Linked DNA regions of Homo sapiens: region 1 is linked to region 2. The links are contacts of gene promoters, found by promoter capture Hi-C in blood cells and fetal thymus (Javierre and others, 2016). All regions are on one chromosome and are shown on one strand. Each heading gives the region's core, a stretch centred on a gene start or on the middle of the fragment in contact. The rest is flanking DNA. Distances are from core to core; before and after follow the strand shown.

Region 1 (4,101 bases), core at 166-2,665, 530 kb after region 2:
GCTGGGGCCTGGGCTCCTGGGTCTGAGGGAGGAGGGGCTGGGGCCTGGACTCCTGGGTCTGAGGGAGGAGGGGCTGGAGGTCTGGACTCCTGGGTCTGAGGGAGGAGGGGCTGGGGCCTGGACTCCTGGGTCTGAGGGAGGAGGGGCTGGGGCCTGGGCTCCTGGGTCTGAGGGAGGAGGGGCTGGGGCCTGGACTCCTGGGTCTGAGGGAGGAGGGGCTGGGGTCTGGGCTCCTGGGTCTGAGGGAGGAGGGGCTGGAGGTCTGGACTCCTGGGTCTGAGGGAGGAGGGGCTGGGGCCTGGACTCCTGGGTCTGAGGGAGGAGGGGCTGGGGTCTGGGCTCCTGGGTCTGAGGGAGGAGGGGCTGGGGCCTGGGCTCCTGGGTCTGAGGGAGGAGGGGCTGGGGTCTGGGCTCCTGGGTCTGAGGGAGGAGGGGCTGGGGCCTGGGCTCCTGGGTCTGAGGGAGGAGGGGCTGGGGTCTGGGCTCCTGGGTCTGAGGGAGGAGGGGCTGGAGGTCTGGACTCCTGGGTCTGAGGGAGGAGGGGCTGGGGCCTGGGCTCCTGGGTCTGAGGGAGGAGGGGCTGGAGGTCTGGACTCCTGGGTCTGAGGGAGGAGGGGCTGGGGCCTGGACTCCTGGGTCTGAGGGAGGAGGGGCTGGAGGTCTGGACTCCTGGGTCTGAGGGAGGAGGGGCTGGGGCCTGGACTCCTGGGTCTGAGGGAGGAGGGGCTGGAGGTCTGGACTCCTGGGTCTGAGGGAGGAGGGGCTGGGGTCTGGGCTCCTGGGTCTGAGGGAGGAGGGGCTGGGGCCTGGGCTCCTGGGTCTGAGGGAGGAGGGGCTGGGCCCTGACCCCAGCGTCCCCTGACTGTCCCCTTTCCCTGCCAGGGTGTGACTCTTACAGACCTGAAGGAGGCAGAGAAGGCTGCAGGGAAGGCCCCAGAGTCAGAGAAGCCGGCGCAGAGCCTGGTGAGAGGGGTCAGCGAGGGCGAGTGGGGTGGTGCGGGATGTCCTGCTTCCCTGACTCGCCTCCCCCTCCCGACAGGACCCTTCCCGAAGGCCCCGCGTCCCTGGAGTGGAGAACTCTGACAGCCCTGCCCAGAGAGGTGAGGTCTGCTCTCGGGGAGGTCATTCCCAGGGAATCATCCAGTTTCTCCCATAGTCTTCTTGCTTTCCTGGGGGCTTGACCCGGGGACCCAGGCACCGAGAGGGGGCTCTGGAGGTGCCTGGGCTGATTCCTGCCCCTCCCCCAGCAGAGGCGCCCGACGGGCAGGGTCCGGGACCGCAGGCGGCCAGGGAGCACCGCAAGGTCGGAAAGGAGTGGAGGGGGCCTGCGGAGGTGAGGGGCTCAGGTGGGGCCGAGCTGGTGCAGAGGGTGGGCCGGGGGGCGGGCAAAGCCCTTCCCATACCCGCTAAAGTCCCTCCCATACCCATTGAACCCCCGTCTACCTGCCCACAGGGGGAGGAGGCGGAGCCGGCTGACCGCAGCCAGGAGTCCAGGTAGGGGCGGGGTGGGAGAGGTGGGGTCTGCGTGCGGGCCGGGCCGGCCCCTGACGCGCGCTCCTCCCCTGCCCCAGCACCCTGGAGGGCGGCCCCTCGGCCCGCAGGCAGCGGTGGCAGCGGGACCTCAACCCAGAACCTGAGCCAGAATCGGAAGAGCCAGACGGAGGCTTTAGGACGGTGCGATCCCACCCCTCCGTCGGGGCTTTGCCTGCTGGGTGCCCAGCTTCCTGGCTTCCCCGCCCCCCCAGCATCGCCCCATCCTCCACCTGACCCTCCTCTACCTGACCCCCAGCTGTATGCAGAGCTGCGCAGGGAGAACGAGCGGCTTCGCGAGGCCCTGACCGAGACCACGCTGCGGCTGGCGCAGCTCAAGGTGGAGCTGGAGCGGGCCACGCAGGTAAGGGCGCCGAGGCCAGGGTCACGGGAACTGGCAGGGCCGCCTGGGTGGGGCTTAGACTGCTGGGAGGTAGAGCCTGGCCTGGGGGTGCCGGCGGGGCTGGGCTTCACTTGAGGGGCGGGGCCGAGATCTCGGAGGCGGAGTCTGAGCGAGGGGATGGGGCTGTGGGCCTGCCGGTGGCGGGGCCTGGCCCGTGGGGGAAGGGCTTGTGGGCTGCCTAGTGGGCGGGCGGGTGCCCAGCAGGAGCCTAGGACCCTTCAGAGCAGTGCTGGCTTCTTCTGCTGACCCCTGTGCTTTCTGTGTCCTCACCAGAGGCAAGAACGCTTCGCTGAGAGGCCAGCCCTCCTGGAACTGGAGAGATTCGTGAGTAGGGGCAGTGGGGATGGGGGCCAGAGGCGTCCCCAGCCTCACATCCCTAAGTTTGGACCAAGGGAGCCACATTGCCCTTCCCAGCTGGCCCCTGGCCTTCCCCTGCCCTCCTCAGCCTCACTCAGTTTCTGCACTTTCCCTGTTCATTCCAGGAGCGCAGGGCCCTGGAACGCAAGGCCGCAGAGCTGGAGGAGGAGCTGAAGGTGGGGGCTGTGGGGGCTGTGGGCAGAGGGCCGAGGGTGGGTGGGGGTGCAACCCGCCAGGGCTGCCCAGCTGACCCTTGCCGTCCCCCAGGCCCTGTCTGACCTCCGCGCTGACAACCAGCGCCTCAAGGATGAGAATGCAGCGTTGATCCGCGTCATCAGCAAACTCTCCAAGTGACCCGGAGGGACTTTCCCGCACCCGTATTTATACAGCTGCTTCTGCCACACGCACCCCTTCCCCCGTGTGAACACGAGTGACAGGGCTCCGGGGGAAGTCTCAGAGAAGCCATAGCCCCCCTGGGACCTCCGGACTGGGAGGGGAGCAGAGTCCCCAGGAGCCGAGGGGGCCACCCGAGGCCAGGATGGAGGTGGGAGGCCGAGCCAAGCAGGGGGACGTTGCCAGAGGGGACCAGGGCCAGAGACGGGACCAGGAAGGAACTGAGGACCAAGAAGTGCAAGGATCAGTAGCCAGGACCAGAGTGGCCGCCTGGAGGTCCCCATCTCACGTGTGATGCCACCCCGTCACCCCTCCCCTCCTGAGCAGGGATCCAAGAATGTGCCAAGAGTCCCGCCAGCCTCAGCCAGGTGGGCCTGTATATAGGGTCCATGTGCAATAGGGAGGGACGTCTTCTATTTTTTGCTGCCCCCTCCCCGCCCACTGTCTGGGGCAGGGGGAGAAGGTATTTTCGAGATAAAGCACAGGCACCACAAATAAAAGTCGTGAAGTTGCCACTCAAGCTCTGTGTTCCCAGCCAGAGGGAGGGCACTGTTTCCTGCTCCTGCTGGGGGGCCGTGCGTGTCCATGACCAAACCACTGGGCCACTTGGGTGGGTGCCGGGGGATGGGCTGGTGCTTACTCACCTGTGTGGTGAAGGAGCTTCAGGATGAGCCCCCAGCGGGAGCGAAGGCTCCAAGACGGAGCCCGCGTGATCGCAGGCGGGGGGCTGAGGGGAAGCTGATGGGGCAGGAGGGATCAGCGGGCAAGACCTCTGGGGCCAAGGATGTGGAGCTGGGGAGTTTGGGTTTTGCCATCAGTGTCTTTGAAACAAATTTAGTCAATTGCCAACATTTAACATTTGGAGAAATTTGTGTGTAAAAATCTGGAATTTTGGCCGGGTGTGGTGGCTCACGCCTGTAATCCCAGCACTTTGGGAGGCCGAGGCGGGCAGATCATTTGAGGTCAGGAGTTCGAGACCAGCCTGGCCAACATGGTGAAACCCCTTCTTTACTAAAAATGCAAAAATTAGCAGGCGTGGTGGTAGGTGCCTGTAATCGCATCTACTCTACTTGGGAGGCTGAGGCAGGAGAATCGCTTGAACCTGGGAGGCAGAGGTTGCAGTGAGCCAAGATCGAGTCACTGCACTCCAGCCTGGGCAGCAGAGCGAGACTCCATCTCAAAAACAAACAAACAAACAAAAAACAAAAAGAATTTTGCCTTCTTTTGAAAGAACAGGAATCTGTGACAATATGAACTTTTCAGTCCTGCATAGCCACCGTTGACTAGAGCTGAGTAGGAGCCATCTTCTGAGATGAGGCATTCATTCAACAATTAGTATAACACCAACAGGAAGAACAGGACTGAGTGAGTACAGTGTGACTGATCATTACTGAACAAAACAAAGATCCAATACTTTT
Region 2 (3,779 bases), core at 169-2,668:
ACTTTGGGAGGCCGAGGTGGGCGGATCACCTGAGGTCAGGAGTTCGAGACCAGCCTGGCCAACATGGTGAGACCCTGTATATACTAAAAATACAAAAATTAGCCGGGCATGGTGGCGGGCACCTGTAATCCCAGCTACTCAAGAGGCTGAGGCAGGAGAATCGCTTGAGCCCGGGAGGCAGAGGTTGCAGTGAGCCATGATCATGCCACTGCACTCCAGCCTGGGCGACAGAGTGAGACTCCATCTCAAAAAAAAAAAAATTATTTTAAAATCAAAAGAAAAGAAGGGAAATATAGCTTTGGAAGACCAAGGCAGAAGGATCGCTTAAGGCTAGGAGTTCAAGACCAGCCTGGGCAAGGCAAGACAGCAAGATCCCCATCTCTATAAAAGAAGAAGAAAGGAGGAGGAGGAGATAATTCAGCCTAAGTGGTGTTTATCTTTATTTTATACCAACATATCACAAAATATAATTTCATATATATTTATGAATGAAATGATCATGCTTAGGATCATGTTTAAGTATCTCCTATCCTGCCCTTTCAAGAAAACTATTTAAAGATGTTTCCAAACTCTTCCATGTCTCTTCTCAGTGGTTTGTCACAATGCTTCTACAGTGCTACACAAAAGAAAGAGAAATGGTCCAGAGAAGTGTAGTGACTTATCCAAGGTGATACCACCAGAATGACTAAACGGGGCAGCTAAGAAGAGCCCCGTCCTTGATGCTGCTGAAAACCCCGCGTTTTTGAGCTCTTTCCTCCCAAACATAACATCAGCTTGCGGGTTTTTGCGTCCTCCCAGGACCACCTGTGTTGCTGTTTACTGAATATTTTTCTCCACACTGCCTTTTTTTTTTTTTTTTTTGACAGAGTCTCTGTCACTCAGGCTGCATGCAGTGGCGAGATCATGGCTCACTGCAGCCTCGACCTCCCGGCCTCAAGCGATCCTCCCACCTCAGCCTCCCGAGTAGCTGAGAATACAGGCATGAGCCACCGCACCCGGCCTACACCGACGTTTATAAACTTGGCGTCATTACGTTGTCATGAGCAGTGCAGAGGTAATCACAAAAACGTTTACCGTGGAAACAAAGCAAAGCTTCTTCAGTTCTGCTGAGGTTCCCCTGACAGCCAGAGCCTCGAGTCGGCCTGCGTTGGTTTAGAAGGAACGTTCGGATTTGTTCCCAGGGTGTTACAGGCATCCTAGCGCCACACAGAGCGTACCCTCGGAGGGACAGACAGGTAATTAGAGAGGGAACAACTCACATTCTCCCGGGCTCAGCCGCCACGCCCCGCCCCGCCACGCCCCCTGCTGCACCACGCCCCCTCGCAGCCCCGCACTGCGCCTGCGCAGTAGCTCTTACGCCAGTTCGAGCCCCACCCCCTTTCAGAGCGAACATTGGCCTTGGGGGCGGGGCTTGGGCACAAGATGGCCGCTGCGCGCCCAGAGGCCCAGAGTCGGAGCTCACCGACTCCGGAGTCGCGATCCCAGGAGCCACTGGACCTGGTGCGGGCAAGGAAGGGGCCTGGGCGTGGGGCTCGAGGTGGGAGGAGGTCGTAGTGTGGGGGGCGGGTCCGGGGCGTGGCCTATGAGGGGGTGGGCGAGGGAGGTATTTAGTGCTATGGCCCTGGGGGTGGGGCTTCTTGTGGTTTCGCGAGGGGCGGGGCAGGGGAGGAGACTATGTCATGGTGGGCGGGGTGGGGGAGGGACCTATGGGTGGTGGGCGGGGCCTGGATGGGGGCGGAGTCTGAGGACGGTGTTGTCTTGTGGGACGGGTTTGGGTCCAGGGAAGGGGGCTTACCAGGGATAATTTGCATAATTTGGGTGGAGCCTTGTAAGGGGCGGGGCCTCATAAATTCTAGGGCTAATTCTAGGGTAGAAGGTTGGGAAGGTGACCCTGAAAAACGTGGGGGATTATGATTGGAGCACCTATGTCGGGGTAGGGGATAATTCTTCAAGGGTCTTAGTGATGCTTCTCGAATGCCCAAGGGAGAATTTGGGGGTAGAAGTGGGTGGTCTAGGTGACTTTGGAACTTCCTCCACGTTACCCCACTCAGAATTAGACTAATTGAGGACATTCATTCATTCAACAAACATTTACTGAGCTCCTACTTCGGCTCTGTAAATAGAGAAGTGACCAAGACAGACAAGGGTTGTGTTCTTTTGGAGCCTGCAGTCTCTTGAGAGGAGAGAGACAATAAAGGAGAGTTACTGTGATATGTTCTATAAAGGAAATAAAAATTGAGCCAATTTCTATAAATTGAGCCAAGAGTAGGGGTGGGGCAGCTAAATTTAGACGAGAGAAGTCAGCTGGGTGCCGGCTTATGTTTAAGCTGGGGTCAGAGAGATAAGTGGAGCTACATCGCCACAGATATTATAGTGACGATTTGGGATAAGTCATTTGGAGCCACTGGAGGGTTTTGAGTGCGAAAAATGACTTGATCTGATTTACATTTTCAAAAGACCTTCAGGCTATTCCTGGGAGGTGGGTTACAAGCCAGCAGAAATAGGAACAGAGATGCCCTTGGGTTTTTCAATTTTGGAGGCGCCAAGTGATGGGGCTTTAACTAGGGTGGAGGACAAAAGGTGGGATCCATGATATATTTTGGACAGGAGAGGAAATGTTGATGAGGATACAACAGAATCCTGGAGGATGGGCCGGGCGCGGCGGCTCACGCCTGCAATCCCAGCACTTTAGGAGGCAGAGCCAGAAGGATCTCTTGAGCCCAGTAGTTGGAGACCAGCCTGGGCAACATAGTGGGACTCCCTCTACATTAAAAATAATAATAATAATTTTTGTTTGTTTTGCTGTCTAAGATGGAGTCTTGTTCTGTCGCCTGAGCTGGAGGGCAGTGGCATGATCACATCTCACTGCAACCTCCACCTCCTGGGTTCAAGCGATTCTCGTGTCTTAGTCTCCCGAGTAGCTGGGATTACAGGCAGCAGCCACAACACCTGGCTAATTTTTGCATTTTTAGTAGAAACGGTATTTGCCATGTTGGCCAGGCTGGTTTCGAACTCCTGACCTCAGGTGATCTGCCTACCTCAGCCTCCCAATGTGCTGGTATTACAGGCCTGAGCCACCGTGCCCAGCCAGAAATAATTTTTTTTTAACTAGCTGGATGTGGTGGTGCATGCCTGTAATCCCAGCTACTCAGGGAGATGAAGTGGGAGGATCGCTTGAGCCCAGGAGGTCAAGGTTGCAATGAGCCACGATCGCGCCAGGGCAACAGAGTGAGGCCCTGTCTGAAAATAACAGAGGAGCCCAAGCTTTAATAATTGGGGCGTGCTGGGGCGGTCCTGAGGCAGGTTCCACAGGCTCCTCTTTCTTCTCCTCTTGCCCAGGTCCTGGTGCCTGATGACTGCCGGCCTGGCACACCCCCGAGTGACCTCATCGAGATCCAGGTGGTGAAGGTGACGGACACCACGCTGGTCCCTGAGCCCCCGGAGCCAGGTTCTTTCCACTGTGCCTTGTGCCCTGCTGCCTTCCGGCTGGTTTCCGAGCTGCTGTTCCACGAACATGGCCACTTGGCTGGGGCCGAGGGAGGCGGGCAGGGTGGGGACCCGAGCCGGTGCCACGTGTGCGGCCACAGCTGCCCGGGCCCCGCCAGCCTGCGCGCGCACTACAGCTTGCACACGGGGGAGCGGCCCTACCGCTGCGCGCTCTGCCCCCGCGCCTTCAAGGCCTTGGCGCCCCTGCTCCGGCACCAGCACCGGCACGGGGTGGAGCCGGGCACCTCTCGGAGGCCTCCGGACACAGCGGCCGTTGCAGAACAGAGGCCCGG

What was found. The method cuts DNA at HindIII sites, captures the fragments that hold promoters and counts their contacts. A CHiCAGO score of 5 or more calls a contact.
Region 1: a fragment that was not itself captured here is called in contact with the fragment with the promoter of ZNF784 in region 2 in 1 of 17 cell types (fetal thymus); the score reaches 6.0 in fetal thymus.

What each region holds. Positions count from the first base shown.
Region 1 is chr19:55,090,015-55,094,115 of GRCh38, reverse strand. PPP1R12C (protein phosphatase 1 regulatory subunit 12C) reads left to right here. Exons shown (of 22, transcript NM_017607.4): 14 at 883-963; 15 at 1,040-1,100; 16 at 1,248-1,333; 17 at 1,454-1,494; 18 at 1,572-1,674; 19 at 1,790-1,894; 20 at 2,207-2,257; 21 at 2,416-2,466; 22 at 2,558-3,198. The coding sequence ends at 2,644. Among named protein-coding and RNA genes, the nearest start is that of EPS8L1, 16 kb to the right of the region's middle. The HindIII fragment of the contact is 7,228 bases long and covers 1-4,101 here.
Region 2 is chr19:55,622,205-55,625,983 of GRCh38, reverse strand. ZNF784 (zinc finger protein 784) reads left to right here and starts at 1,418. Exons shown (of 2, transcript NM_203374.2): 1 at 1,418-1,500; 2 at 3,340-3,779. The coding sequence starts at 1,423. RefSeq lists enhancers at 1,038-1,187, 938-1,437 and silencers at 1,258-1,317, 1,388-1,437. The HindIII fragment of the contact is 2,172 bases long and covers 1,095-3,266 here.